Regions from separate parts of the Homo sapiens genome. Here regions 2, 3, 4, 5, 6 and 7 are each linked to region 1. Evidence: promoter capture Hi-C in 16 types of primary human blood cells and fetal thymus (Javierre and others, 2016). All regions are on one chromosome and are shown on one strand. Each heading gives the region's core, a stretch centred on a gene start or on the middle of the fragment in contact. The rest is flanking DNA. Distances are from core to core; before and after follow the strand shown. Region 1 holds the start of PLEKHG7 (pleckstrin homology and RhoGEF domain containing G7). Region 2 overlaps LINC02823 (long intergenic non-protein coding RNA 2823). Region 3 overlaps LOC105369896 (a long non-coding RNA gene). Region 4 overlaps LOC105369896 (a long non-coding RNA gene). Region 5 overlaps LOC105369896 (a long non-coding RNA gene). Region 6 overlaps LINC02823 (long intergenic non-protein coding RNA 2823). Region 7 holds the start of EPYC (epiphycan).

The links. Contacts are between HindIII fragments. The CHiCAGO score rates a contact against its expected background, and 5 or more counts as called.
Region 2: a fragment that was not itself captured here is called in contact with the fragment with the promoter of PLEKHG7 in region 1 in 6 of 17 cell types (non-activated CD4 T cells, total CD4 T cells, activated CD4 T cells and 3 more); the score reaches 14.7 in non-activated CD4 T cells.
Region 3: a fragment that was not itself captured here is called in contact with the fragment with the promoter of PLEKHG7 in region 1 in 4 of 17 cell types (activated CD4 T cells, total CD4 T cells, naive CD4 T cells and 1 more); the score reaches 6.6 in activated CD4 T cells.
Region 4: a contact is called between a fragment that was not itself captured here and the fragment with the promoter of PLEKHG7 in region 1, in 5 of 17 cell types (activated CD4 T cells, non-activated CD4 T cells, naive CD4 T cells and 2 more). The highest score is 10.4, in activated CD4 T cells.
Region 5: a fragment that was not itself captured here is called in contact with the fragment with the promoter of PLEKHG7 in region 1 in 6 of 17 cell types (non-activated CD4 T cells, activated CD4 T cells, total CD8 T cells and 3 more); the score reaches 8.9 in non-activated CD4 T cells.
Region 6: a fragment that was not itself captured here is called in contact with the fragment with the promoter of PLEKHG7 in region 1 in 10 of 17 cell types (naive CD8 T cells, total CD8 T cells, activated CD4 T cells and 7 more); the score reaches 13.1 in naive CD8 T cells.
Region 7: the fragment with the promoter of EPYC here is called in contact with the fragment with the promoter of PLEKHG7 in region 1 in 1 of 17 cell types (total CD4 T cells); the score reaches 5.4 in total CD4 T cells.

The regions. Positions count from the first base shown.
Region 1 is chr12:92,701,529-92,704,468 of GRCh38, forward strand. PLEKHG7 (pleckstrin homology and RhoGEF domain containing G7) reads left to right here and starts at 1,461. Exons shown (of 17, transcript NM_001377329.1): 1 at 1,461-1,604. RefSeq lists an enhancer at 1,602-1,661. The HindIII fragment of the contact is 11,169 bases long and covers 1-1,804 here.
Region 2 is chr12:91,337,382-91,340,636 of GRCh38, forward strand. LINC02823 (long intergenic non-protein coding RNA 2823) reads left to right here. Exons shown (of 4, transcript NR_183611.1): 2 at 2,166-2,251. The region is part of intron 8 of LOC105369896 (a long non-coding RNA gene); the gene reads right to left. Among named protein-coding and RNA genes, the nearest start is that of LINC02823, 12 kb to the left of the region's middle. The HindIII fragment of the contact is 1,008 bases long and covers 1,029-2,036 here.
Region 3 is chr12:91,281,220-91,284,472 of GRCh38, forward strand. All of the region lies in intron 8 of LOC105369896 (a long non-coding RNA gene), which reads right to left. Among named protein-coding and RNA genes, the nearest start is that of LINC02823, 44 kb to the right of the region's middle. The HindIII fragment of the contact is 972 bases long and covers 1,387-2,358 here.
Region 4 is chr12:91,302,260-91,305,108 of GRCh38, forward strand. The region is part of intron 8 of LOC105369896 (a long non-coding RNA gene); the gene reads right to left. Among named protein-coding and RNA genes, the nearest start is that of LINC02823, 23 kb to the right of the region's middle. The HindIII fragment of the contact is 908 bases long and covers 1,008-1,915 here.
Region 5 is chr12:91,320,509-91,323,401 of GRCh38, forward strand. All of the region lies in intron 8 of LOC105369896 (a long non-coding RNA gene), which reads right to left. Among named protein-coding and RNA genes, the nearest start is that of LINC02823, 5.0 kb to the right of the region's middle. The HindIII fragment of the contact is 6,024 bases long and covers 1-2,893 here.
Region 6 is chr12:91,358,819-91,361,872 of GRCh38, forward strand. All of the region lies in intron 2 of LINC02823 (long intergenic non-protein coding RNA 2823), which reads left to right. The region is part of intron 7 of LOC105369896 (a long non-coding RNA gene); the gene reads right to left. Among named protein-coding and RNA genes, the nearest start is that of LINC02823, 33 kb to the left of the region's middle. The HindIII fragment of the contact is 8,216 bases long and covers 1-3,054 here.
Region 7 is chr12:91,003,636-91,006,560 of GRCh38, forward strand. EPYC (epiphycan) reads right to left here and starts at 1,337. Exons shown (of 7, transcript NM_004950.5): 1 at 1,312-1,337. The HindIII fragment of the contact is 5,756 bases long and covers 1-2,925 here.

The DNA of each region.
Region 1 (2,940 bases), core at 211-2,710:
TCCACAAACTAAAAGCTAAAAGACTTTATTCATTTTTTTCCTTCCCAAATTGAAGCAATTCACTTCTAGACATCCTTGGCAGGAGCTCAGAACTGTTTATGCAGGCTCCATGCAGGCAAAATATTTTTTGATATCCTGCTTTTGGTTGAGTCATGGTAATGTTGGCAATGGTGGTGAGGGCAGGAGATCAAGTCATTTTTCAAAGTTCTAAGTAAATGATGTTCTAGTAAGATCAATATGAGAGAATTAAAGACTAATATAAAGTTTATCACAAGGCCAACATCTATAAGTTAGACCTTTTTTTCTTTTCCTCTAAGGGCAGTGGTTCTCAAATTTTAACCCATGTAAGAATCACCTGGAAGTCTTGTTAAACACAGACTTCTGGCTGGGCACAGTGGCTCACACCTGTAATCCCAGCACTTTGGGAGGCCGAAGTGGGTGGACCACCTGAGGTCAGGAGTTCGGACAGCCTGGCCAATATGGTGAAACCCCGTCTGTACTAAAAATACAAAAGTTAGCCGGGCCCTGGTGGTGTGCACCTGTAATCTCAGCTACACAGGAAGCTGAGGTAGGAGAATCGCTTGAACCCAGGAGGTGGAGGTTGCAGTGAGCTGAGATCGTGCCACTGCACTCCAGCCTGAGTGACAGAGTGAGACCCTGTCTCAAAAAAAAACCACGGACTTCTGACCCCATCCCAGAGTTCCAGGGGTTGGAGAGCATGGAGGGGGAAGATTTTTCCTTTCTAACAAGTTCTCAAGTCATAGTGATACTGCTGGTCCAGGGACCCTACTTTAAGAACTACCGACCTCAGGGAACCTTCACAGTAAGTATCTGTAATGAGTCCAATCAATGAAAACTTCAGTGAATTAGACTTCATTAGAATTACTTCAACTTTGTTTTGGGAAAGTCTATAGACATTTTTGTTTAATGCTGCATACATATGCATTATCTCCACCTAGGCATCAAATAAATATTCTTTGGGGTACTGATCTAATGAGAATACTGGTAGATATAAATGCTCTTCCATTTGCATTTTAATTATTTGAAAACTAATGTTCACAAATTCACTCCCTGGTGCTCTAATCATTTCCTCTACTATTCAATGCTTATCAAAGCAAGTCATTAATAAAATAGATCAACACAAAATGTTTTATGATGTGAAGAAAGTAGAGTCCCAAAGAATGCATCTCACAACCTTAGAGAAAATAAATGAAATAGAAACCTAGAACTGCTTCACTGAACTATGAGTGATGATTTGTTGAATGCCTCAAGAGGAAGTAAAAAGTTACATTTGCATCATTTCTGTATTTGATCAGCCGTTGTTTACCTGACTTGTTCTTAGGCTGCCTTAGATTCTGAGCTGGCTTCCCTTTAGGCTTTTTCATAAACAAATAACTGGAAATGTCTCTAAGGAGGGGAGAGACCAGTTCCTCATTGCAGCTGGTAGCAAGGTTGCTTTCACTCAGCCAGGAGGACGCATTGTTACAGGTGTGGAACTTGTTGCTCCGAGCCCTCGCCTGGCAGCTCACTCTGGATCTGCGGGTTCTGAGGAGCCTCGGGACCCACCTGGGTGCAGTTGCCTTCAGGGACAGACCATCTTACAGGTATTAAAGGCAACATTCAGCTGCTTTCTGGGTTTCTCTCTTGCACTTTCCTTTTGTCCTATTGCTATCAGTTTCGCTTGTTTTGCTGATCTCTCCAGGTCTCATTAGAATTAGTGAATCATTAACCTGCAATGGTTTCATTTCTAGTACAGTGAGATGGCTTCCCCAACAGTGTGGGTGGGTGTTTGCTGGATTCTCAAAGCTTGGAAGGTCAAAGGTTGGTGAATTTTCTTTATGGTGACCATGTATTAATTTCCTCTTTTAAACATAAAGAAGAGTTAGCATGAATGGATTGACTTGTTAACTTTTGATTCTACCAGATCCACTGGGTGTAGTCATTTAGGGAAAGCTTCCCAGGAGCCTTAGCCATTATCTCATTTAATTTCTGCAACAGGCCTGTGAGGGAGGTTCTTTGATGTCCTCTTGGTAAATGCTGCATGGCAGTTGGCAGAGGAGAAGTGGCTTGTCCTAGGTCACACAGCCAATTGGCGGTGATACTGGAAGAGAAACCAGACCCATTTCTTCTGGTGCTTGAGCTCTTCCTGCCTTTCTGCAAACCACCTCCCTAAGCCCTGCTGTTTTTAAAGTTTCTCCATTTCCGCAGTGCATCATGTCGGCAGTTACTATTGCCTTGGTTCCAATATTTAAGACAGTGGCTAATAAATAATTCTTACCGATGTGAATCCTATTGGCCATAAATAACTTCCTACCAGCAGCTACACCCCTGTGTCTGAACGACTACAAAGGAAACCCAAAGCCGTATCCTAACCCCTCAAAAGAGGAGAGGAAAAGGCCAGAAGGACAGAGGGGAAACCCAAAGACTAAGAAATCTGATCTAACTATTATGCAAGTGCCTATGCAAATATACTGAATTCCTTTAACATTGTTGCTGCCTAGAACTTGGACAGTCTTCTAAAGGAGAAAAATAATAGAACGGCCCTGATTGTATGTATGTGTGAAAGTACCTATTGATTCAAAATTAGCTGGGTGGGGTGGTAAGCATCCATAGCCCCAACTACTCAGGAGCACTGCAGCATGAGGATTCTGTGAGGCTAGGAGTTTGAGGTTACAGTGCGATATGATCACACCTCTGCACTCAGCCTGGGCGACAGAGCCAGACTCCATCTCTAAAAAGAAAAAAAAAAAGAAAGAAAGTACCTATAGATTTGATGCTCAGCTCAGCATTTGTTTGTTGGGAGAATGAGGAACTGGCCTCTCCATGTAGCAACAATGTACCTTATTTTATCAATGGTAGGGAGGGACCATTTCATACCTCTCCAGCAATGTTGGTATCAACCTTCAGAGCAGCCTCCAGGAATTACCAATCTAAAACCAA
Region 2 (3,255 bases), core at 283-2,782, 1.4 Mb before region 1:
GTGTCTTATGAAAAGCAGAATTTTTAATTTTGGTGAATTCTGACTTTATTATAGGCCATGCTCTTGATGTTGTATCTAGTAAATCCTAGCCCAGAGAATCCTGTGTTCTCTTCTAGAAATTGTATAGTATTAAATTTCATATTTAGGTCTAATATCCATTTTGTGTTATGTTCAAATAATGAATTGACATTGATTTTATGTTATGATGACATTTTCATGTGTTTTGCTTTGTTTTATCTTCTGCATATTATTTGATTATTCCAACATCATCTAATGAGAATATGATTCTTTCTCCTTTGACCTGCTTTTACACCTTTTAAAGAATATCACTGTCCATATACGTGTAGCTCTATTTTTGGAATCTCTGTTTTATTCCATTGATCTATTTCTAATATTTGTACAAATACAACATTGCCTTGATTAAAATCACATTATAAGAAGTCTTGATATTAGATAGTGTTAGTCCTCCCACTTGGTTCTTCTATTTCAAAGATGTTTTGGCTTCTCTAGATTACTGCATTTCCCTGTGAATTTTAGAAATTTTTTTTTCATTTTCTGCCAAATCAAAACAAAACAAAAACTAGTACTAAAGACCCATGGGTATAGTATGGGTCTCAGTATACTTAGACCTTCAGTAATTTCTGTCTGCAATTTTAGGCAGTTTTCAGTGCACAGATTTTTTTGGTGTTTTATCAGATTTTTCCTTAATAACTTCATATTTTTGCTGTTAATACATATGGTACAATTTTTTATTTTTAATTTTTGATTGTTGGTTGCTAACATATAGAAATATAACTGATTTTTATATAATCTATAAGTTTGTCAAACTCATAGGTTCTAATATCATTTTATATATTTCATTACATTTTTTATAAAATGTTTGAATAAAGTTTTACTTATTTCTTAGTGACATGAGTGCCTTTAGTTTTAATTTCTTTATCTTATTGCACTGGCTAGGGCCTCTGTTTTAATGTTAAACAAAATTGATAAGACCAGACACCTTTGTATTTTTCCTAATCTTGGGAGAAAGCTTTAAGTCTTTCACTATTAAACAAGATATTAGTTGTATATTTTTTTATATCTGAACTTTATCAGGTTGAGAAAGTTACCTGCCATTTCTACTTTGTTGACATATTGTCAGGAATGAATGTTGGATTTTTTTCAAATGCTTTATCTCATTAATAATAGTGTTGATTTGGTTTGTTCCTTTCAGTTTATAATATGGTGATTTTATCTGATACATTTTTGAATGTTAAAACAACCTTACATCCAGGATAATTACTACCTGGTCATGATGTATTAGTGGAATTATACAGATATCAAAACCAGACAAAAATGTTAACATAAAAGAACATTACATACCAATATTTTTCATGAATAAATATGCAAAAATAGATAGATATGCTACCCAAATTTTAGCAAGTCAAATCCAGTAATATATGATGACTATGTGTGGTTTAACCCAGGAAGGTAAGGTTCAAGAGCAATGGGAAGAGGAATAGAGAGGACTTGAGTAAGAACATGGAGTAAAATGAATTTGTGATGACTTTGATGTTGAATTACCCTCCAGTTCTGCATTAGTGCTATCATAAAACTCAAGTATTCCTTATTTTCTTATTTCAGTAAAATTTCTTTCTCCTGATTTTATATGTATCCTTAGCACAAAACCTCCATTAATTGAGAAATAAAGGTGGGTCTCTGCTCCTTGAAGCCAAAAACTCTTAACTAACAAAACATCCTTGATTATCTTTGTTTGTGATTAGGGTGTGCTTAGATTAAGATGTTTTAATATTCTCCATAATGTAATAGAGTTTATGGATCTTCTTTATGTTAACACTCAGCAGGCCCTCACCGAACAACTGACCTGACAGCTTCCTTGACTCTTCCCAGCCTCCAGAACTGTGATAGATAAATGTTTGTTGTTTAAGTCATCTAGCCTACGGCAAGTTGTTGTAACAGCCTGAACCAATTAACACATAAGGCTTATAAATGGTGATTTTGTGAGGAAAGATTTAGTTCCTCTAAAATTTTGTGAAAGCTTTTTACCATAAGTTGCACTTTAGGACATAAACCCTATTCCCTTTGTGTAAATACATAAAAAGAAGTCAATAAAGCCTCTAGGATTTACACCTCAAACTACTCCCTCTCTATCTTCATTCTGCCAGGTGGATGTCTCCAGGGAGGCCATACCTAATGAGGAGCTCCCAACAAATGGCAACTGATGTTACCTACAACCGAATACGTCAAGAAGGTTAGAAAAACCAATACAAAGTTAGTCTGTCAGAACCTGTGTCAGGCAGAGGGCTCCCGTGCCACATAGTTGCTTTAAGATGTTAATTGATTATAAAGCACAGTAGGCTCCCAAACAACAATTATACTCCAAAATGAAGTGGAAATCTTAATGAAGACATCGAGACACATCATAAGGACTTAAGTAGAATATTTAAAAAGAAAAATTTATCAGAATTCTCTAAAGCAGATTTTTTGATTACACAATGAGAATGAACTATATAATAAGGAGAGAAATATTATCTTTTGAAGAAAAACATCTTCAAAAAATAAAAAAAGTTTTAAACCTAGGTCAAACATCCTTCAAAACCACCCTATTCCATTTATTCTAATAACATACTCAGTAAGTATCACTGTAGTATTTGAGATACACTGAGAAGATTTCACTGGATAATAGATATAATTGTTCAAATTATTTTTCTATTTAGCACATATAAATCAAGCCCCTGTAGAGCTCCAGACACTGTTCTAAACATTGGGAATACAACAGTGAACAAAACATATATAGGTGGTTACAGATGTTATGAAGAAAAAAAAAGCAAATAACAGGGTTATAGGTTGATGGGGCAGGGGGAGTGCTATTTAAATAAGAGGATTGGAAATTAAGTTATAATAATAAGGTGACATTTAAACCGACATGTAGGCAGAGTGATGGAGTGAGCCATATAGAATAAGGCTGTTCCAGATATGGAGAGCAGCAAATGCCAAAAATCCAAAGCAGTTTTATGCTTGGCCATATTCAAAAACCAGCGAGGTGGACAATATGGGAGGAGCAGAGCAGGTTAAGTATCAGACTTCCACACTGGGGATGCTTCAGCCTCCTACCTCCCATTAAAGGTACTTCGTCTCTCATTAAATTCAACAACCTGCTTGCAAAATAAATTATTTAACTTCTGATTCCCCCAAGTACTTATCATCAACTGCTTTTCACATAGGCTTTAAAAGTTTCAACTTGTGTCTAATCTT
Region 3 (3,253 bases), core at 623-3,122, 1.4 Mb before region 1:
GTTTATACTACATTAAAAATAAATTTTAAGATTTGGAGAAAGTAGCTGATTTCCTAAAAATGTAATATACTATTTTTAATTCAGGTAGAAAAAAACTTGAATAAATCAATGACCATAGAAGAGGCCAAAGAAGGAATTAAAAAACAACTTTTTTTGAAAGAGTCACCTGTTGGTCCAGTTGGTTTTACATCTTATTTCTTTCTTTTTTTTTTTTTTTTTTCAGATGGAGTCTCACTCTGTCTCCCAGGCTGGAGTGCAGGAGTGCAGTGGCACCATCTCGGCTCACTGCAAGCTCCACCTCCCGGGTTCACACCATTCTCCTGCCTCAACCTCCAGAGTAGCTGGGACTACCGTCGCCCGCCACCGTGCCCGGCTAATTTTTTTTTTTGTATTTTTAGTAGAGATGGGGTTTCACTGTGTTAGCCAGGATGGTCTCGATCTCCTGACCTCGTGATCTGCCCGCCTCGGCCTCCCAAAGTGCTGGGATTACAGGCATAAGCCACTGCCCCCAGCCTACATCTTATTTCTTAATAACTATATTAGTCTGCTCAGGCTTCCATAGCACAGGACCACAAATTAGGTAGCTTAAACAACAGAAATTTATCTGTTAAAGATAAGACCAAGATCCTATCAAGTTTGGATTTTAGAGAAGCCTCCCTTCCTGGCTTGCACATGGCCACCTTCTCGCTGTGTCTTCAATGGCCTCTGCTCTATGCATGTGTAGTGAAACATCTCTGATGTATCTTCCTCTTCTTAGGAGGACACCAGTCCTATTGGATTAGGACCCCATCCTCATAACCTCATTTAATCTTAATTATCTCACCAAAGAGCCTTTCTTCAAATACACTCACATTGGGGGTTATGAAATAAACACAAAAATTTGGGAGGAAATAAATCAATCTGTAACAATTGCCTTTATAAACTAGGTAATCCCTGTTACTTACACTACTATCAGCCACAAAAGAAAAAGGAAAAAGAGAAGGAACATCTCTATCAAATAACAGAAAAGAACGGTTCCCAACTTCTTTCATGAGGCCAGCATAAACTTAATAGCAAAACCTAACAGAGTCATTAAAGTAAAATGATAGTACAAACCAATCTTATGCATAACTGTCAAAGCAAAATTCCACTCCAACAAAAACAGCAAACTGCATTCAGCAATACATTAAAAACATATACTCAAAACACTGCAAGATTAGTTAACATTTAAAAATGTGTAATAATTCAATTCATTGAAAATAAAAAATATCAACAGGTCAATAGATGGAATAAAAACATATGAAAAATTTCAGCATGGATTTATGATTTTAAAACTCAGCAAACTATAAATAGAAGGAAATTTCTTACTCTGATAGTGATTATGTTAGTTGATGGAGAAATGTTGAAAGCTTTTCCTTTGAAATTGGAACAAAAGGACAATAATTATTTAACATTGTTTTGGAGATCTTGGCAAATGCAAAGGGCAAGTAAGTGAAACAAAAGGGATAGTCACCAGAAATAAAGAAATAAAATGTTCATTATTCGTGGAGAACTTGATTATGTTGTAGAAAATCCAAAATAGTTTACTGAGAATGATGATTTCCAATTTCATCCATGTCCCTACAAAGGACATGAACTCATCATTTTTATGGCTGCATAGTATTCCATGGTGTATATGTGCCACATTTTCTTAATACAGTCTATCATTGTTGGACATTTGGGTTGGTTCCAAGTCTTTGCTATTGTGAATAGTGCTGCAATAAACATACGTGTGCATGTGTCTTTATAGCAGCATGATTTATAGTCCTTTGGGTATATACCCAGTAATGGGATGGCTGGGTCAAATATTTCTAGTTCTAGATCCCTGAGGAATCACCACACTGACTTCCACAATGGTTGAACTAGTTTACAGTCCCACCAACATTGTGCACATGTACCCTAAAACTTAAAGTATAATAATAATAAAAAAAAAGAAAATCCAAAATAATCTAAAGAAAAACTATCAGAATTACTAAAAAAATTTGGCAAGGTCACCAGATACATCAATATGTAAAAAAAATCCATTGTATTTTTTAGTCTAGCAACAAACAAATGGAAAAAAATTAATAAGATTTTCAATAGTATAAAAAAGAAATAAATCTTTAGAAAAGTGCAACATCTGTGAAAGAAACCAAAAAATAGTACTGACAGAAATGAAAGAAGTCCTAATAACATAGAGGGATACAGAAGACTTAATGTTGTTATAATGTCAGTCCCTGAAATTGATTCATAGATCCCATTCAATCCCAATAAAATTCTTAACCAGTTTTCTTTTCTAAGGTAGATAAGCAATTTTCATGACTTTTATATGGAATATAAAGGGCCGAGACACCCAAAACAAGCTTGTAAAGAAGAACCAAGTTAGAGAACATGAACTATGTAGTAAGTCTTATTATAAAGCTACTCTAATTAAGAGTTGCAATATTAGAGCAAAAATAGACAAATCAACAGATGAAACAGAATGAAGAATACAGAAATAAACCTACACATTTATTATTATTCGTTTAACAAATGTAGCACATATACACATATACAGATACATAAATAAACATATATATCCATATATAGATACAGCTAGATATTTCTGTGTGTCTATATATGTGTGTGTGTGTGTATATATATATATATATATATATATATATATATACATAGAGAGAGAATGCTATAAATATGTAGATATAGATATATCTGTCTCCTATTGGTTCCATTTCACTAGAGAACCCAGACTAATACATTTATGATCCCATTTATATTAAATTTAATATTATAAAAATTCTTCCTACAGGGTTATAAGTCAGTTAATTAAATGAGACGAGCCCAGCATATGTTCAGGTCATGTTTTTCTCACCTAGAATTAATTTTTGCATTGCTCTCTTTGTGATAATTAATCAAGATGTATACTTATGATTCATGACTTTACCATATGCAGGTTTACTTCAACAAGAAATATTTTCAAATATATAACTCTTGGAAATAAATAATCAAAACTGATTTTATTTATGTATTATGCTGTCTGGTGTATACAAAATCTAAAAAATCTATAGATAATATATACAAATAGTTTGTGGAGTTTGTTGGTTACAAGATCAATATATAAGAATTTTTTTTTCTAAAAATAAATATTTGCCTGGGCATGGTGGCTCAGGCCTGTAACCCCAGCACTTTGTGAGGCCAAGGAGGGTAGATCACTTCAGGTCAGGAATTTGAGACCAGTCTGGCCAACATGGTGAAACCC
Region 4 (2,849 bases), core at 212-2,711, 1.4 Mb before region 1:
ACAACACACACTGGGGCCTGTCACGTGTGGTTGGGGAAGGAGAGCATTAAGAAAAATAGCTAATGCATGCTGGGCTTAATTGCTGGGTGATGGGTTGATAGGTGCAGCAACCCACCATGGCACACATTTATCTATGTAACAAACCTGCACATCCTCCACAAGTACCCCAGAACTTTAAAATAAAATAAAATAAAATAAAATAAAAACTTTTAACACTGCTTTATTGTTCTGGTATGTTGTATCTTTGCTTTCATTAGTTTCGACTAATTTATTGATTTCTGCCTTAATGTCATGGTTTACCCAAAAGTCATTCAGGAGCAGATTGTGTAATTTTCATTTAATTGTATGGTTTTGAGAGAGATATTTGGTATTAACTTCTCTTTTTATTGCACTGTGTTCCAAGAGGATGGTTCATATGATTTCAGGGTTTTCTTTTTTAAATTTGTTAAGAATTGCTTTCTTGCTGAGTGTGCAGTCAATTTTAGAATATGTGCCATGTGCAATTGAGAAGAATGTATATTCTGTTTTTGTTGAGTCAAATGTTCTGTACATGTCTGTTAGCTCCATTTGGTCAACTGTTGTGTTTAGGTTCCATATATCTTTGTTAGTATTCTGCCTCAATGATCTGTCCAATACTGTCAGTTGGGTATTAAAGTCTCCCATAATTATTGTGTGGTTATATAAGTCTCTTTGTAGGTATGTAAGAATGTGTTTTATGAATCTGGGTGCTCAGTGTTGGGTGCATATATATTTAGAATAGTTCAGTCTTCTTTTTGAGTTGAACCATCCCCAAGACAGGTAGTCATCAGAGTCTCCAAGACCAATGTGAAAGAAAAAATATTAAAGACAAGTAAGCAGAAGGAGAAGTTCACCTACAAAGGGAACTCCAGCAGGCTAACAGTGGACCTTTCAATAGAAACTCTAAAAGTCAGAAGAGATTGGGGGCCTATGTTCAGCATCCTTAAAGAAAAAAATTCCAACTGAAAATTTTATATCTGGCTAAACTAAGCTTCATAAGCTAAGGAGAAATAAAATCTTTTTCAGACAAGGAAACACTAAGGGAATTCAATACCACTAGACCTGCCTTACAAGAGGTCATTTCCATACTAAACACAGAAATGAAAGACTGGTACCTGCCACCACAAAAACACACTTAAATACATAGACTATTGAAACTAGAAAGAAAATATACAATCAAGTCTACATAATAACCAGCTAACAACACAATAAAAGGATCAAATTCACACATACTCATGTTAACCTTTAATGTAAATAGGTTAAACATCCCACTTAAAAGGCACAGAGTGGCAAGTTGGATAAAGAAGCAAGGCCCCACTGTATGCTGTCTTCAAGAGAACCATCTTACATGCAAGGACATCCATAGGCTTAAAGTAAAGGGATAGAGAAAGATCTATCAGACAAATGGAAAGCAAAAAAGAGCAGGGGTTTCTGTTCTTATTTGAGACAAAACCAACTGTAAACCAACAATGATCAAAATTACAAAGAAAGGCATAAAATAATATTATTTTAAATTACAGGCTTTTGAAGTTGCAATGGTCCCAAAGTATCCCAAGGTTCAAGCACAGATTCCTTCTATGACTCTCCTGATGCAACAAGGATTGGTCAAGCTAGTGAAATTCCACCTAAAATGCTCAATCCAACCTGTTGCCCAAATGAATCTGCCTCCTACCATTCCTCTGCAGTCAATGATTTGAAGAGTCCTAGAGAAAAACGCTCAATCTGAACCCTACTTTCTTCCTTTTCTCAATGATCACTAGCTTGCTTTGGCTATTTTTATGTTTCTTCTGAATAATACAGTAGACTTCTCTCCAGACTTTTTATCTGTAGTTTTCCTCATAACACTAACCCTTCCAACACATTCTGCCAAAGTTATTTTTTCAAATACAAGAATCCAAGCTTCTCACTTTTCTCTTTAAATAATTTTGATGTTTCCTTAACAACTACAAGAAAAAGGCTAAAGATCTTAGTGTTATAAAATAATAATGTTAGGAAAGTCTCTCCAAATGCATTTCTCTCTATCATTCTGATCTTCTAACCAACATTCTGCCAGCATTGCTCTCCCCCAAAAAGAGATGCCTTCCTCATACTCTTTTGCATTTGAATATGCTGTTTCTTTTGTGGCAAAGCCTTTCTAATTCTGTTCTGTTTGGTGAATCCTAACTCATCCTTTAAGACGCCACTCAAGTGTCACAAGCTCTGAAAAGTCCTTTAGGCAATAGCTGTTCTTCATTTTTGTCTCCACAGTACTGTTCAGAATTCTATTTAGCATGTATCAGATTGCATTTTACCCATCTCACTACATACCTGACTTCCCCCTCAAGTTATGAATTCCTCCAGGATAGGGATGATAATCATACACCCACAATGTCAGGTTCATTTTCTGGCATGGAGGAGTTCAGTGTGCCCTTATTCTAGGACTGCAAGAACAACTGAATAAATGGAGTTCTTCCACAGAAATAAGGAGTCTTCACATTCCTGAAAACCTCTTGTTAAAACTTGATTAAGTAAGATCAGAAAATAAATCATGGAGATGCCTTTTTACTTTGTTTAAAGAAGATATACCATGAAATTCTGTGGAAATTCAGTGAAAAATGACATTCAATTTCCCTCCTTTCAATTGTGGGCTAAATAGTATTGCCAATACTGTCTACTCTTAAAAACTGAAAATCTGTTTTTCAGACTGCAAAATATCTCAAATTCTTGACTCCTTCTACTGTTACTAAATCAAATTGCATTTTGTTTTCCACTTAAATTTTCATTTTACTCCAGGAGTTTTTAGAGAAGCCACTTGTATTAGTGAATTTGTGTTCAAAGTGCAAATTCTGCTG
Region 5 (2,893 bases), core at 246-2,745, 1.4 Mb before region 1:
AACTATTGCAAGGACAGAAAACCAAACACCACATGTTCTCACTCATAGTTGGGAATTGAACAATGAGAATACTTGGACACAGGGCGGGGAACATCACACACTGGGGCCTGTCATGGGGTGGGGGCATGGGGGAGGGATAGCATTAGGGGAAATACCTAATGTAAATGATGAGTTAATGGGTGCAGCAAGCCAACATGGCACATGTATACATACGTAACAAACCTGCACGTTGTGCACATGTACCCTAGAACTTCAAGTATAATAATAATAAAAAAAGAAAGATGGCCACACTATTGGAAGTTTCTATTGATGAAGATAAAGGTAATCTCTAACTAGGTTTATTTTGTAAGTAAATGCAGCACCATCTCACTTTAATACAAGTTGGGACTAAAAGTATTGCAAGTAGCACAGAGTACCCCTTCAAAACATAAAACTTAACATTTGACTGATAACTTGTATGTGTGGGAGGAATTCTCTATCATACTCTTTCTTAGGAGGCCGTACTGAGTGACATATGGTTTATGTGGTACATTTACAAATAATATGGTTCAGAGACAGTATAGGGTTCTGTTAAGGCCACTTGACTGATGGAGTGGTGCCACCAAATTTCCAAGCAAGGAATGTTGCAAAGAGAAAATATATAAGACCCAGAATTAGGATAACATCTGGATTTGGGTGTGCCTAAACGGATCATGCTTTTATGCAGAAAGTCATGGGAAGTGCCCAAACTGAAAAGTTGCGGGTTACTGACGCTGCTCCGATTGCCTGCACACAGTGTAATCCCATCCATCTGCCAATCGACAAGAATTAGATCCATATATATGCATAATATATATACACATATATATGCATATATGTATATGGATCTTAAACATAAATGAATTATCTTTCTCTATAGATATATGGTATTGCTTTCTATATAGAAAGAGCATTCATTTGTGTTTAAGTTCTGACAACCCCTAAGATTTCAAAGTATTTTCAATGTATTGATGGAACATCAGGAAGCACAGATCAGTTCAACCCAGGAGCGTTTTACCACTTAGTTTAGAGCTCCGAAGAGAAGTCTGGGTAAAAAACACAAATATAATTCTGTCTTTATTCAAGAAAATTCTAAAAATTGAACTTACAAAAAAGAGAATGTCGATATATATACAAGGCACGACTTATTCGATAGTTCCTTGGAAGATGTTGGAAAAAATTAGAAAGTTGGCATAAACCAATCTCTACCATGGGGTTGGTAATAGAGAGATTAGAAAGTGCATTGGACATATTGGACTTGAAGTTAAAAACATGTATTCCAGTTTGAAGATATGTTTTTTATCTTCTGTATTTTTATTGTTGTTGTTTGTTTTGTTTTCGGGAGACAGAGTCTCACCCTATCCCCCAGGCTGGAGTGCAGTGGCGCAATCACGGCTCACTGCAATCTCCCCCTCCCAGGTTCAAGCAATTCTCATGCCTCAGCCTCCTGAGTAGCTGGGCTTACAGGCGCCCACCACCATGCCTGGGTAATCTTTATATTTTTAGTAGGGTTTCGCCATGTTGGCCAGGCTGGTCTCGAACTCCTGACCTAAGGTGATCCTCCCACCTCCCAAAGTGCTGGGATTACAGGCATGAGCCACTGTACCCAGCTATCTTCTGTATTATTTTGGGCAAGTCACTTCACCCCTCAGAATAAACTTCCATCTCATCATATACACAGTTAAGCTAATAATACTTGCTTTTGCTACTTCAAATGGTCTGAGGAGATCATTCCTATCTCGGTTGAACTCTGGAGATGTGTTTGCTCCTGCCTGGTTTATTATTATATAGCATCTTCTGTGTCTTCCTTTTTAGTTGCCTGGTACAGTGCCTGTTGTACAGTACACATTTAACAGACACTGCAAAATTTGTATAACTGTATAATTGTATAACACACACAAGAGGAAATAAATAGAGTACTCAAAAAGATTTGTTGTGAACTCTAAAAAGTGAAAAGTATTAGAGAAGTCCAAAGTAGAGAAGAAACAGAGTGGGAGAAGGCATAAGAAGACATTAACCTGATAATTTTCCATGGCTGGTTGTAAATTTTCTTATGAACCCAAACAAATTATGAAACAAATATTTTCAGCTATTACACACTGGATTAGCCTATCACACTATGTAACTGACCTTGTGTTATACTCTCTTTATACTCTCTACAATTAATGATCAATCTATAACACTGCTGTCCAAGAGAGCTTTCAGCAATGATGGGAAGTTCTACAAGCATATCTTGGAGATATTGTAATTTTCATTTTAAAGCACATATTACAGGAAAGTGAGATGCACAATTTTTTCAGTTTTCCAGTGCATATACAAGTTATTTGCAAACTATATTACAGTCTATTAAGTGTGAAGTTGCACTATGTCTAAAAAATCTACATATATTAATTTTAAAATACTGTATTGCTTAAAAATGATAATCATCTGAGCCTTCAGCGAATCATAATCTATTTGCCAGTGGAGGATCTTGTGTCAGTGTCGATGGCTGCTAATCAATCAGGGTGGGGTTGCTGAAGGTTGACATGCCTGTGGAAATTTCTTAAAATGAGACAGCAATGAAGTTTGCCCCATTGATTGACTCTTCGTGTCCCAAAAGATTTATCTAGCATGTGATGCAGTTTGGCAGCATTTTACCCACAGTGGAACTATTTCAAAACTGGAGTCAATATTCTCAAACCCTGCTGCTGCTTTATCAATTAAGTTTATGCAATATTCTAAGTCCTCTGTTCAACAACATTCATAGCAACCTCACCAGGAGTAGATTCCATCTCAAGAAACCACTTTCTTTGAACATCTACAAAAAGTAACTTCTCATTTGTTAGTTTTATTATGAGATTGCAGCAATTCAGTCACATCTTCAGGCTCTACTTCT
Region 6 (3,054 bases), core at 391-2,890, 1.3 Mb before region 1:
AAAGTCACACATACTGTCCTCTTCACAGGTTAACATTCCTGGCCCAAGAATTTACCATTGCAGAAAAGTAATATGGATACTTTTTGAATTATGACATAATAGTTCATATATGTGCATACACCAATGCTTAATCAGATAACCAAATGGCAATGAAAGGCAGCCATAGCTGGCCCAGCCTATGGGCCTTCCTGAAAATACCGTATTCAAAATAGTGAAATTATTCTCAGGGAGGAGGTGAGAAAAATCAGGGATTCCAAAGGGATGGTACATATTTCTGAGAATGAAAAGTGGCTCTATACCGTTCTGTAAGCCAAAGCCTGAGGTGCCTCCAACTTGTACCCACAGAGATAGTCCCTCACCAGGTATGACTTTCACTGAATTAGATCACTTCCCATCCTTTCAGTATATAAGTCATGAGTTGTGTAATTTGAAACAAAGACTGGAAAAGAAAATTGTCTATCAAGGAAGAAATGCAATTCTTCCTTACGCAAAATAAATCCAGAGATAAAGCCCAGGGCTCCTAAATTATCCCCATAGAGTCTTCCTCTATCTTCTCTTTTATCATCTTTTGTGTGTGGCTTCTATCCTCATGGTCACCTTCCAGTTCAAAACGGGGAACTCAGACCCTGGCATCACATCTATATTCCAACATAGGAAGAAGAAGGAATAGAGAGGGAAATCAGACTTTCCTAGCTGCACACGAATTTTTTTTCCACGATGCTTCACTGAAAATTGTTACCAAAAACTTAATACTACTGGCCAAAAGTTAGTCATATGTACCTGGCTGAAAGGGATGCTAGGAAAGACAGTCTGTTAGCTGTGAACATTGTTGACTCAAATTACTTTAAGTTCTATTACTAAAAAAAAAGTAGAGAATGGATACTCAGAGGACAACTAGTCAAATCTGCTCTACTAAGTTAAGGATATGAGAGAAGGAAGAGTAACAATGAACTGACCCTGAACTGATAAAAATGATGACAGGCAAGAACTTCCAGGCAAAGGGCAGAAGAGTCAGGTTAGGTTCCAAGAGTGTAAAGTCTTGGCTGCAGATTGGAGCCATCCAGAAGTTATTAGTGCAATGGAATATTAAGAAGTTTAGGATTTAGAACAAGATAAGTGGGAAAGAAACTGTGCTGTTCTGTGCACACCACCTCCTGGTTTTGCTAACTTGTTCAGGAAGAGTGCTTTACAATAAATCTGGGTCAGGGTTTTTGGCCCAAATTGGCAGAAGCTATCAATTGATTCTAAATGCTAGACCCATGTCTCCACATCCAATAGATATTATTATCAGAGTCTACCTGATCTGGAATCTGTTTGTTGCAACAAACCCTTGGGGTTAGTTGTGCACAAATCTCTAATCTTCGGAACCAGAGAGATGAGGATTGTTAATGATGGAATAAATCAACTGTTATAAACAAATTCTGGCTAAACATGTGAACACTTCCTCCTTTGCATTTTGTACTCCTAATGGTCCCTCTTTGGCTGGGGGTGGGAATTCCTTAGGTTCAGCACTGCTCCTGGGTGGACTGTCACCAACCCCCTGCTTTTCTTTGTTCTCCGTGGGTCGAGTTATTTGCCTAGTCAGGCCCAATGTGAGAACCTGTATATTTCAGTTGCAGGTGCTGAATTCATGCACTACTTTCATTCACTCTCTGTGAGCGCTGTGGAACAAGGTGTCAAGGAGGAAGTGTTCACATGTTTAACCAGAATTTGTTTATAACATTTGATTTATTCCATCATATTCTTATATTGACACCAGAAATACTGCCTCTGGATTTCCACTTATTTTTACCATTCAGGAAGACTGGTTTGTTCCTGATCTCTACTTCAAGGGGGATGTAAGAGTAGAAAGGTGTGGGTAAATTTTTCAGTGTCCAGTTTGCTTTAAGATTGTGTTACAGAAATTGAACTGGGTGTATATTAACTTTCCTTTCCCCCATCACTGTAGGAAGAGTTTCCTTTACAGTATCTAGATGCAGATGAAGAGTTCTGGAGCCATGACATTTGGTGAAACTATTCACATTGCACAATGGTCAAGGCTGCATAGTAATTTTCTCCATTATCTACCTACTTCTCCAGTCACATTTAACTCCACACTACTGCTTTTCCCTCTTCCTCTTTCACTGTGCATTTTTCCCTGCTACCACAGGCCATTTGCGTGTGCTGCCCAGCCATCTGCAACACTCCTCTCACCTACTTGCTTGCCTCTGGCACTCCCTCCTCTAAACACACACATTTAGTTTGTATTCATCCTTCAGACCTCAGGTGAAGCAGCACATCTTAGAAGAAACGCTTTTTGAATCTTAAAGAGCACTCAAATCATTATAATATGCAAACTTGAACTGTCATTTCTACAAAAGTATATCTTAGCTTGAAATTTGCATACATTAATATTAATATGATTAATGTCCCTCTACCCTGTTTGGCTCTAATCACACTGACAGCAAGGAGTGGGTCTTTTATGCCAACTATTATATTACCAGCACTCAACATATGCATGGTAAATAGTAGGTGTTCAATAAATATTTTGTGACTGAATGCATGAATCTATATTTGTCCCTGGCATATAATAAGCCTTTGTCACTCTCTCTTTCACATACACACACACACACATCTTAAATAAATATATCAACTAAACAAGTTAATATATGTTAAGTGAATTTATGAAAAAATTGTTTACAATGCTGTGTGGTAGAGTGGAATGAACATGAACTTTACAGTCAGGCATTTAGGACCTAACAGCAGTTCTTCAATTAATGGCTGTCTGAGTTTGGCAAGTTATCTTACCTCTCTGAGCCTCAGTTTCCTCATCTGAGAAGAGGATAAGAGCTTTGAACTTAGTTGTCAAAGTCAAATGAGATAACGTTAAAAAACTGCCTAGCTGAGTGGTGAGTATTCCGTAAGTGCTTAATAAATGGAAGCTACTGCCATGATTGAATTTGTATTATCATTATGTTAAAGCAGGGAATAGAGGTCAGTTTAGTTGAATTACACACACAAAAAAAACAGTGCTGGCTACATAAATTGGTTCAGTAACTAGCTGTAGAATAAATG
Region 7 (2,925 bases), core at 87-2,586, 1.7 Mb before region 1:
GTTACCTAGTGATCCCTTATTGAGCAGGCAAAGTATTGTAAAATTCTGTATCAAGCATGTCTAATTTTAGAGGCTTTTACATTTGGACACACTTCTTGGGTTTACTTTAAGAACAGTACCTGTGGTGTTACTACCTATGCATACATATAAAAGGGAATTCATGATAAATATTACTTTTAAACTTGAATGCACTGGCAGACAAAATGACCTTCAGTTACTTGAAAGAAAGCCTTTATGAAGCAGGTTTAGGCAGAAGGATATGAAATTCCTCTGAGAATAAGAAGCAGTACAAGGAGCTCCTTCTTAGCTCTCCTATGCTTTCTTCAAATAAATTTCTTATTCACACAGGATAAACTAAGCCTCTATTTCAGTTGCCTTTGCAGAAGTCTTTGCAGGATTGCAGATTTGGAACTGTTCTAGGCAATTACCAACAAAGTCCTACTTAATAAAACAGTGGGTTTGCAAATCTTCCAGGAACCATTCTCCCATAATCAAGTTGGAAACATTAACAGAAGCCACTACCAACTTAAAAAAAATTTTTCCTTATATGTTTCTGGCAACTTCCATTATTCAAAGAAATTATACACTTGCTGGCCTTTTTTCTCACATCATACTATATTTGATTACATATAGCTACATCTCAGAATTTGCTTGCATTTTGCATCACTCCTAGAGCTATCAACTATAAGGCAGGCTGTGTGAATCTTAAAAATATATACAGCATCTATCTATGTTTAGTTAAAAAATTTATATTCCTTTCTTCAAGTAATTGTATTAGCATTTAATGTAGTTTCTTAATTAACACTTTAATTTTGTGTTCACTTTATACCATTTATTAATATTTTAAAATTTGTGTATTTAAAACTTTCAATATATAGCTCAAAAAAATTTTAAATGCATAATGTCATGTAATCATTACAATACTTTTAATCTCAGGAAATTTCACTATTTCCTCCCTTTTCACAAAATTTCAATTAATATCAATCAATAGTGCCTGTCTATACTGGCAAAGAATGTGGTCTGTGTCAGGAAACTTTACTTAAGGCATATATTGGAAACTACTCTAATTTTATTGGCATCTGTCATGACTACTGAGATTAACTATTTGCTGTATGTTATTAATTCCTAAGCTAATTCAAAATTTTGGATTTTCCAAGAATAATATAAATACAAAGTCAATAACAAAAATAAACCAAATCCATTGAATCAAAATTCACCAGATGACATTAAGGCAAGTTAAATTATTTTTTAAAGGTTGTTATAGTAGGGAAAGAACTCTGACCCAAGAAGAAAGCAAGTATAAAAACTTACCTTTGGCTCTGACCTGATGAAATGGCACAAAGTGACTGAGGATGCAGAGCTAGTGGTATTTGCCCCTGACCAATGGCTGTGAATTCTGGTCTGTGGGAGGTGGAATTTATAACACTCAACTTTCTGTTTGCAAAACCTAATATTGAGAAATACTTCTCAGTCTTTAAAAAACCTCAAATTATTTTATAGTCACCCAAACTAAGCAGTAGGATCCAAATCACATAGTATACAAAGTTCTTGAAATTATGTTAATGGAGTTATAATTGCCAAAGTATCACCTTAAAATTTTTAAATGGAAAAAGTTGGATTTAACATACCTCATCTGTAACAAACTCACCAATTAAGAAATGAAGTTCATGTATACAGTGATACTATAGATGGATATTTTAGTTCTAATAAGAAATAATTTTCCCAAAACTTGAAGTCTTGAATTGCTTTCTTCACTTTTCATTAATGTTAAGTGAAATTTGGTAAATGTTGCAGAAACCTTACCTGTTTAATATTGGGTAAGTAAAAAAAGATATCCCAATTATTTTGATTGCATGGAATGCTTTGATAGCAAAACAGGGAAAAATGAACCTTTTGCATAACTTTAAAAAAATTACATCCAGAAGTGATGCATAAATATGATCTGCGTGTTTTGGGGAGAAAAGGGGCTTTTTTTAAAAAAAGTTATTGTATCTATCATAGACAAATAAATCAAATTACACATTTTTTCCTTAGAATAGGAGCTTTATTTTAAGCTCTTGTTAACTTCCATGGTTTGTAAAATTGAACTTTAATACAAATATGAAGAGAAAAAATATGCTTTAAATTTCCATACCTCAATTTTACATTGTATAAGTCCTAGAGAAAGGTGAAAGTTGCATCTTGTATTCTGGTATGCTTTAGATAAATCTAGGAATTTGGTTCTCACTTATGCTTCAGGAATCTTTTCCTTCATGTCTGCAAGTGAATAGATGTATTGAATTTTGAAAGCGGTATTACTCCTGGGCCAAGTGATGGGAGAGAAGAAGGTTTGTCTTTAAGGTTCTCTCACTCCCCTTCCTGCCTCTGCTCCCATCTTCCCTGCCCTCAAAATGTCTTTGCCCATCTATTCAGGGCATTCTTATTTGTCATCCCCATCATCCAACCCTGTTTCCAAATGATTTGTTCTTAGTATGCATTGTTTTTCTCAAAAACAATTTTATTTGGAGCAGAAACAGTGATAATGGGTAATGTATGAAGTCTACCAAGACCTCTCAAAAAATAGAGAGGCCATCTTGGAGACAGGAACTTATTTCTGGCATCTGTGAAGTCTCACCCCACCATATAAAGGCCACTTTTAGAAGCAGTGCTGGAAAGATGCCTGAATCCAAGTTTCTAGGCTTGTCCTCTTTAGAAGCAAGGTCCACGTGGGGTGTCAGGTGATTTCATATATGATTGTTAATCACCTCAACACATTCTTAAGCAGAGTGCTTACCACTATTCACAGATGGGACTACTGAGACTCAGATGATAAATGATACAGCACCATGTGTGACACAAAAAAAGAGGAAATCAACTTGGCTTTTCTCTGTGTCAGGTCCCTAGACATGATTGAGTCTGTCTGAGGGATACGTGTATACACAAAAA